Linked DNA regions of Homo sapiens: regions 1 and 3 are each linked to region 2. The links are contacts of gene promoters, found by promoter capture Hi-C in blood cells and fetal thymus (Javierre and others, 2016). All regions are on one chromosome and are shown on one strand. Each heading gives the region's core, a stretch centred on a gene start or on the middle of the fragment in contact. The rest is flanking DNA. Distances are from core to core; before and after follow the strand shown. Region 1 overlaps LDB1 (LIM domain binding 1). Region 2 holds the start of ACTR1A (actin related protein 1A). Region 3 has its middle 26 kb from the start of NOLC1.

Evidence for each region. The method cuts DNA at HindIII sites, captures the fragments that hold promoters and counts their contacts. A CHiCAGO score of 5 or more calls a contact.
Region 1: a fragment that was not itself captured here is called in contact with the fragment with the promoter of ACTR1A in region 2 in 6 of 17 cell types (activated CD4 T cells, fetal thymus, naive CD4 T cells and 3 more); the score reaches 7.7 in activated CD4 T cells.
Region 3: a contact is called between a fragment that was not itself captured here and the fragment with the promoter of ACTR1A in region 2, in 2 of 17 cell types (activated CD4 T cells and endothelial precursors). The highest score is 7.1, in activated CD4 T cells.

What each region holds. Positions count from the first base shown.
Region 1 is chr10:102,113,184-102,115,940 of GRCh38, reverse strand. The region is part of intron 1 of LDB1 (LIM domain binding 1); the gene reads left to right. Among named protein-coding and RNA genes, the nearest start is that of LDB1, 5.8 kb to the left of the region's middle. RefSeq lists silencers at 808-1,017, 1,128-1,277, 1,298-1,447, 1,498-1,587. The HindIII fragment of the contact is 8,794 bases long and covers 1-2,757 here.
Region 2 is chr10:102,501,255-102,503,961 of GRCh38, reverse strand. It overlaps ACTR1A (actin related protein 1A), which reads left to right and starts at 1,250. Exons shown (of 11, transcript NM_005736.4): 1 at 1,250-1,362. The coding sequence starts at 1,315. It also overlaps a transcript of SUFU not described here. RefSeq lists silencers at 1-174, 852-921 and an enhancer at 1,272-1,371. The HindIII fragment of the contact is 1,293 bases long and covers 1,169-2,461 here.
Region 3 is chr10:102,177,484-102,180,183 of GRCh38, reverse strand. No RefSeq gene overlaps it. Among named protein-coding and RNA genes, the nearest start is that of NOLC1, 26 kb to the right of the region's middle. The HindIII fragment of the contact is 1,743 bases long and covers 470-2,212 here.

The DNA.
Region 1 (2,757 bases), core at 53-2,552, 390 kb after region 2:
TGTGTGTGTTTGTGTGTGTGTGTGTGTACTATGTATTTTCCTTTTCCTATTTGTCCACGAGTAAGGTCTGGCCCACTACCCAAGTTTTAGAAATATTCCCTCCTGCTACAACAAAATTACCTTAGGAAAAAAAATAGAAATATCTGCTCCCTTGGGATGCCCTGCTGGATGGGAGAACAGGTCCTATCCACTAACCACACGTTTTTTTTTCTGGGGTGGTGGGGAGGATTCAGCAGCAAACTAAGCTCCTTCTGGGGACCCTTGGATGGCCAAGTTGGCTTTCCCTAGCTCTGACAATGCCTCTTTCCCTGGCACCCACTTGTCTTCAGTGGTGGTGGGGAAGGGGGCTTCCTGTTAAGGGGGATCTAAGTCAAGGCTTGGAATTTAGCTGGGTTGGGGGCAGGGAAGCCTGGAGTGTCCCCCTTCCTCCAATCAGTGTTTACAGTCTGATGTCAGAATGTGTGTCTGTCAAAAATAACCCCCTGGAGCCTCTCCCCCCAGCTGCTCCAGGATTTCACCAGGGGAGCCCAGGCTGGCAGTCCGGGCCAGCCTTCAACCTGAGCGATCACAGGGGCGAGAAAGATTTGGGGGAGGTTTGGGAGGTGCTTTGAAGATCTTGGAGTCTGCAGAGAGGAGCCCGCCCTCCTCCATCTCTGCCAGTGGCTTTGGCCCACCTGCTCACTCCTGAGCACCGTGCCTGGGGCTCGGGGGAGGCGGGCTGCATTTCGTTCCTGGCCCCCACAGGCCTCTCCTCCATCCAGGTCTCTCCTGGCCCAATCTGATCCGTCCCCTGTCTCTCCCAGTCTCTGTCTCTCTTTTGTTTTTCTCAGCAGTCCCTCCGTCCCAGCCTCCCTCCCTCCCTTGCTCTTCCTCTTTCCTCTCAGGGAGGGGGCGGGGCCGGTGGGGGCAGCTCCACCCTCCGCCCGCCCTGGGGCCTCATTCTGAGAGAGGCTCGGAGAGAGCGAGCGGGGAGGGAGGGAGGCAGGGAGAGAAAGGGAGAAAGGCAGGCAGCCGGCGGGCGCTGCGTGTGTGTTTGAGTGTGCGAGTGTGAGTGAGTGTGAGTGCCGGGTCCTGCCTCTCCTGGTGCCCCCAGCAGAGGGGCCCGGTGGCCTGGGGAGGGCGGGCGGGCTGCTCGGAGGCAGAGGCAGCAAGAGGCGGCGGCGGGGAGAGCCGAGAAGGAGGAGGAGGAGAGAGGAAAGAGCGGAGCAGCCATTGTTGAGGGAAACCTTGCAAACAAAGAAGGCTCCGGACTCCCCGCGGCCCCCCGCCCCCCAGGCCGGCCCCCTGGCCCCCGGCCCCCGGCCCAGTGGCCATTGTAACTTTCCCCCGGGACAGCGGCCGCCGCGGGGCGGGCCGAGGCAGTGCGTGCGAGTCTTTGTGCGGCCGGCGGACTGGAGCTCCCAGTCGGGCCTGCCCGTCCCACTCGGGACATGAGCTGCTGAAGTTGTCCCCCCGTCAGCCCTCACCCCTGCCAGGACTCCTCTGGGCTTGCAGTCGCTCCCCCGTACCTCTCCTGGCCCCCTCAGTTCTCCCAGGTAAGTCTGGGCACCCTGCGAGCCTGTTGGGGGTGGGCGGAAGGCCCTCAGCCCGGCCCGGGCCTGATCTGCGGGCTGGGGGAGAGGTGCCCCAGCCCAGAGCCGCCGGGGCGCTCAGGCCTGCTGACCTGTGGCCAGTCCCTAAAGGGAGGAGGCCTGCCCTCGAGTCAGCCTGGTTACCATGGCAATACCCAGCTGGAGGTGCCCCCCTCAGCCCCGGGATGCAGCTTCCACCCTGAGAAAACTTTACTAGTTCTGGGCTCTTCTCTCCCCCTTCCTAAAGGCTTCCAATTTGCTAGAGGTGGGAGGGGGGCTATGGCTGACTCCAGGGCTGGATGACACATCTCCTCCGTCCCCCCACCTTGCTGCCTCTACTCCTGCTGCTGGGGACAGGCAGCAACAGGGACAGATGGTCTGGGTGATGTCCCTCCCCTTCTCTACTCACTCCCAAGCCCTTGTGCTGGAGCCACTGGGAGTTGTGGCTCTGGAGAGATGCTGAGTTTGTGTCCATTCACTGGAGGTGTAAATAGAGGCCCAGAGCTTTGGGCTCTAGCTCCTCAGAGCTATTTACCCAGGCCTAGACAATGCCTGTTCATTCTCTAGAGAGAGAAATGGAGGCTCTGAGAGTTTTTTTTTTTTTTTTTTTACAAAATTGGAGAGAAACCCAGGCGTCCTGCCTCCTGTCTCTTCAGGTTCTTGAGCTAACACATTTCAAGTGGCCCGGAAACTGAGGAGGCAGGGGTGGTTAAGCTATGGGAGAAAGGATGGCCTAGTTGGGGGATGAGGGCCAGGTCTGAGAATCTACTCTTGGGTTTATTGCCCAGGCCTGGCCTCTGGTGGGCTGTGTGAGTTTGGGCTTCCTGTGTGGCCTTAGTCTGCCTGTCTGTGGATTGGGGAGACTTGGTGGCTGGGTGGGGACTGTCTTTCTGGAGACACAGGCTCAGTCCAGACTGGCATGTGAAGGCTGTGTGTGCTGTTCTTGGAGCATATGGATGTGGCCCGTGAGAGCTCGTGCATGGGGTGAGGGCCTGTTGCGGGCATCTGAATCTGCCTGGGGCTGCTGGGTTCCAGCCCTTGATAGGCATGTTAGGGCGAGCTGAGGGTGAAAGCCTGCTAGGCAGGATGAGGCACACGTGTGTGCAGGCACACACAGGCTCTGACTTGGCATCTTCAGAGACTGTGCAGTCTGGGACCCTCCTTTTGCCTGCATTGTGAGGACAGG
Region 2 (2,707 bases), core at 1-2,500:
GCCTCGGGGCGGCGGGGCGCTAAGGGGGGCGGGGCGCCGGCGCACCCTATCCAAGCACCCATTGGCTAATGTCTGTGCCAGTCACAGGCAGGGAAGGTGTGACTTGACAATAGGCCCCGCCTCCCCTCCCTGTGTTGGGAGTGTCCCAAGGCTCTTGGTCTCCCCCTAGTGTTAGGAGGAACCCAAGTTTAGAGATGCTGAGCACCCTCTGAGGTGCTAAGGTCCCACGAAAGCAGCGAGAAGTGCGCCAACAAAGGATTTGTTACTGTTTTGCTGACGCGCTGCTAACTAGGATTTAAACATAAATCTGACAATGGATTGATTCATTCATCCATGGGGCGTTAGTATTAATAGATGATAATAAATCTAATGTTTTCTAGGGCTATTGACAAAAAGGTCCCTGAAATTTCAAGGGGGCTGGGGGAGAACATAATCCAGAGAAAAAAATGCACTGGGCTCATTTGAAAGCAGTGACACATAACCTCTCTTCACCTCCATTTTCTCAACCATCAGTGTCAATTCTAGCTCGTTATGAAAATTAAAGAGATACTCGAGCAGTTTCTGAAACCCTTAGATGATGTTTTAATGACCAAAAGATTACCTATACCAGTAGTTCCAATTGCCAATCTTCGGATCAATGTTAGCCTGTTATGCAGAAAAAAAGAAAATGCAAAAGGCAACGACAATGTACAGGTTTTTAAACTTAAAGCTAATTTTATGCAATTTAAATTGTTTTCCTTTGTTGTAGGAATATGTCCTCTCGCGTACGTGTGTTAACATTTCCTTTTTGTTAGAGTGTGAGGTGCTAGGAGATGTTTATTAAAGTCTTACAGACCCAAATAAAAACATGAGAACCTTATATTGTCTAAGGGAACGTCGGGGGGAGTGGCAGGGCTGATCTGCAAAATCCAAACATCCATGAATTACGACCAATCCAAACCGAACTACAGACAAGTACTCGAGAAGACTACATACCTCAGCATGCACTGCGAACTCCTTCAAAGGGACTACAGATCCAGGCATGCAACATGACCATCAACCTGTGTCTCTGGCTGTTTAATCTAGGGAGACCACAAATCCCAGGGTACTGCGCATTGGAAATGCGACTCCCAATCTTAAACTAGGCGGGCAACAAAGCAAGCTAGATCGCTAACCCAGGCGCAAAGCTTGCTGGGGATTGTAGTTCTTCAGAGGCGAGGTCGGGCCGCTCCCTCGCCGCCCTGAACCGGCGGCTAGACTGCGCATGCGTGTCAGTGGCGCTAGCGGCGGACCCGGCTGGGCAGTTCCTTCCCCAGAAGGAGAGATTCCTCTGCCATGGAGTCCTACGATGTGATCGCCAACCAGCCTGTCGTGATCGACAACGTGAGTTGCGTCTTTCCTATCTATAAGGGGACTTGGGCTCTCCTCCTCGAAAGGATCGCTTCCCGGGGTTCAGCCTGAGCCGCCGGCTCTTTGTCACTGGCCCGGCCTGTCAGGCGCGTTCAGCCACCGCCGCCTCCTTCCTCCCCTTATCACATAGTCCGCAGGCAAGGCGGCCAGCCAGCAAAAGTGGGATGGAGAACTCTGGAGTGGATAAAGGAAAGAGTTATAGTCCAAGCCAGTCCTTGGGCCCTTGGCTCTAGGGGCCTTAACCGCTGTGTGAGATTCCCGTCGCCCGCCCTCTCCCCCATTTCCGATCGCTCTATTGGTTGCTCTGGCTGTCCATCTTAGCCAATGATACCGCCTCTTAGCCTTGCCGGATGAGGCTAGGCCTCTGCGGTGATTGGCTCACGCCCCTGCCATTCTTCCTTGCCGCCATATTGTTTTCCCTCTTGAAGGGGCGGGGCAGTGCTCCAGGGCTGTGGGGATTGGCTTCCGGGACTCTGGGTGGTGGGGCCTAGAGGCGAGTGCCCGCCCGCGGGTGGAGAACGGCTAAGTTTTCCTTCGGTCTCAGCCGGCGCTGCGGCTTGGTGGTGTGGATCTGGGTGGGGCCCGAGAATCTGGTGCCAGAAACCGCTGTAGGATGTCAGCTATTACTGTGATTATAAATTACAAAGTTGGTAAAGGTCGAGAAGAAAGGAGAGTGACAAAGGAAGCAGAGAGGTTGTCCTCCTCTTTGGAACGCCTAGTTCTTACGGGGAAAAAATTACCAAACTTAATATTTGCCTGGCGCTCTAGCGCTTCCAGGGCGTTTTCACATACATTCGAGTTGGATCCTCACAAAAACTGGACGCATAGTTTAAAAGGAACTTTGATCTTCGTGTTACCGATGAGAAAACTGAAGCGCGAAGACGTAACGTGAGCCCAAGGTCACATAGCAGAGGTGCCCTAAATCCAGTACTTTATCCGTCATCCCTTTTGCCAGCACCACCATGCAGAAGCATCAATATTGACCAATAGAAAGAATCTAAATACTGCTCTTATTTTGGGGGGAAAGGAGAAAATTGTAAAACGACTGCATTTCTGCCTTCGATTCAAAGCTTTGGTCCCACAGAGATTGATCCCTGTCTGTGTCCCTTGTAGGTCCCTCCATTGAGGCAAAACTACCAGTTCCCTCTGTTGTAAGCTGACTCTGTCAGATTCCCTTTGTTGATTCAGCTCTTGGGACCTTAGGCATATTACAATGTTCTCGTTTAAGCTTCAGCTCTGTTAGGTAGATAGGAATTACTATCCCCAGTGTATGCAGGGATGTTAAATAACAGATTTCAAACCATCCAGTTTAGGAATT
Region 3 (2,700 bases), core at 92-2,591, 320 kb after region 2:
AATATGGGCAAGTAACATAACCCGTCTGCCTTATTTTCCTCACCTGTAAAATGTGGATAATACCTTCGAGGGCTGTTGTAAGGAGTAAATAAGACATATATATATATGTATGTGCATATATATATATATATATTTTTTAGATGCAGTCACGCTGTGTCGCCAGGCTGGAGTAGTGGTGCTCACAGCAACCTCTGCCTCCCAGGTTCAAGCGATTCTCCTGCCTCAGCCTCCCAGGTAGCTGGGACTACAGGTGCATGCCACCATGCCCAGCTAATTTTTTTTAGTATTTTTGGTAGAGATGAGGTTTCACCATGTTGGCCAAGATGTTCTCTATCTCCTGGCCTCGTGATCCGCCCGCCTTGGCCTCCCAAAGTGCTGGGATTACAGGCATGAGCCACCGCGCCTGGCCAAATGAGTTGTATTTTCAAGGTTTACAGGGCCTGGCTTATTGTAAGCATATAATAAAGCTTGGCTATTGTTACTATTTACATGCAAGCTGAGCTGAGCATCTCTAATCCAAAACCTGAAATCCAAAATACTCCAAAATTTGATACTTTTTAAGTGCCAACATGATGCCACAAGTGAAAAATTCCACACCTGACCTCATATGACAGGTCTCAGTCAAATGAAGTCAACATTTTGTTTCATGCACAAAATTATTTTATTTTTTGAGACAGGGTCTTGCTCTGTCACCCAGGCTGGAGTGCAGTGGCGTGATCTCAGCTCACCAAAGCCTTGACCTCCTGGGCTCAAGTGATCCGCCCACCTCAGCTTCTTTTTTTTTTTTTTAATTTTTGGAGATGGGGTCTCACTCTGTTGCCCAAGCTGGAGTGCAGTGTCACGATCTGGGCTCACTGCAAACTGCACTTCCTAGGCTGAAGAGATTCTCCTGCCTCAGCCTCCCGAAAAACTGGGATTACAGGCACCAGCTACCACTACTGACTAATTTTTGTATTTTTAGTAGAGACGGGGTTTCAACATGTTGGCCAGGCTGGTCTCCAAATGCTGGGCTCCACCTCAGCCTCCCAAAGTGCTGGAATTACAGGTGTGAGCCACTCCGCCCAGCCACAAAATTGTTTTAAAATATAATATAAAATTGGCCAGGTGTAGTGGCTCACACCTGTAATCCCAGAACTCTGGGAAGCCTAGGCGGGTGGATCACCTGAGGTCAGGAGTTCGAGATCAACCTGGCCAACATGGCGAAACCCTGTCTCTATTAAAAAATACAAAAATTTGCCAGGTGTGGTGGCACACTCCTGTAGTCCCAGCTACTCAGGAGGCTGAGGCAGGAGAATCGCTTGAACCCAGGAGGTGGAGGTTGCAGTGAGCCAAAATCGTGCCACTGCACTCCAGCCTTGCAATAGAGTGAGATTCCATCTCAAAAAAATAAATATACACACATATTTTTATGTTTATATACATAAATACATAATAAAATTATCTTCAGGCTATGTGTATAAAATGTATATGAAACGCAAATGAATTTCTTGTTTAGACTTTCGTCCCATCCCCAAGATATCTCATTATGTACATGCAAATATTCCAAAGTCCAAAAACAAAAACAAAAAAACACACAAAATCTGAAGCCCTTCTGGATAAGGGATACTCAACCTGTATAATGAAGCTGAGATAAAAATTAATGGAGTCTGGTAAAAGAAATTAGAGGAGAGTAAAAAAAAAAAATTTAATGGAGTATCATAACCCAGTATCACACAACTACTAGTGCTACAATTCAGACACGGGGCCCTTTGGTCCTTTCCACTGCTCTCTGCTGCCTTTCTCAAATGAAAAAGAGAAAATGAAAAGAAACTTTCTCCAACTTCCCAGGCCCCTTTGCTTTTTGTCCTGGAGTTGCTCTGGCCCGGGCAGGCTCACCATCATCACTCCTGGGGCTGCCTTTCTAGTCCCGCTCTCTGGAGACCTCTCCAGAAGCCTGGAGCTCAAGTGGGCTTGCAGATGCAAGGTCTGGGGTCCCTCTGTGGAGAACCTGGAAACACCTTCTCAGGGTCCACGGCCCCCACAGCCACTCTTTTCCCTTTTGTCTTGCAGGTTTTGTATTCCTCAGAGCCCTCTTTTTTCCATCTCTCTACTTTTCTCCTTCTACGTTTCTCCTCTCACCTCACCTGTCCCAAGGAAACACAGCATTCTTCTTTAAAACAACAACAACACTTTGTATGTGTGTGTGAAATACAGCAAACATAAACATGAAGCTTAATGGATAATTCTAAAGCACTACTCAATTCAAGAAAAAAATTTTTTAAAGTCCTGGTGTGGTGGCTCATGCCTATAATCCCAGCACTTTGGGAGGCAGAGGTGGGCAGATCTCTTGGACCCAGGAGTTTGAGACCAGGCTGGGCAACATGGTGAAATCCCATCTCTACTGACTGGATGGTGATACTCACTGGATGTTTAATGATACCAACTAATTACTATACTGATAATTCTTTTTTTTTTTTTGAGGCAGAGTCTCATTCTGTCGCCAGGCAGGAGTGCAGTGGTGCAATCTCAGCTCACTGCAACCTCCGCCTCCTGGGTTCAAGTGATTCTCCTGCCGAGTAGCTGGGACTACAGGCGCCTGCCACTGCGCCCGGCCTGATAATTCTTTTAAGTGTGAAAAGTAAAGCCTTTTTCCTTAAAGGCTTAACTTTAATTTTTTTGAGATGGAGTCTCACTCTTGTTGCCCAGCTTGGCATGCAGTGG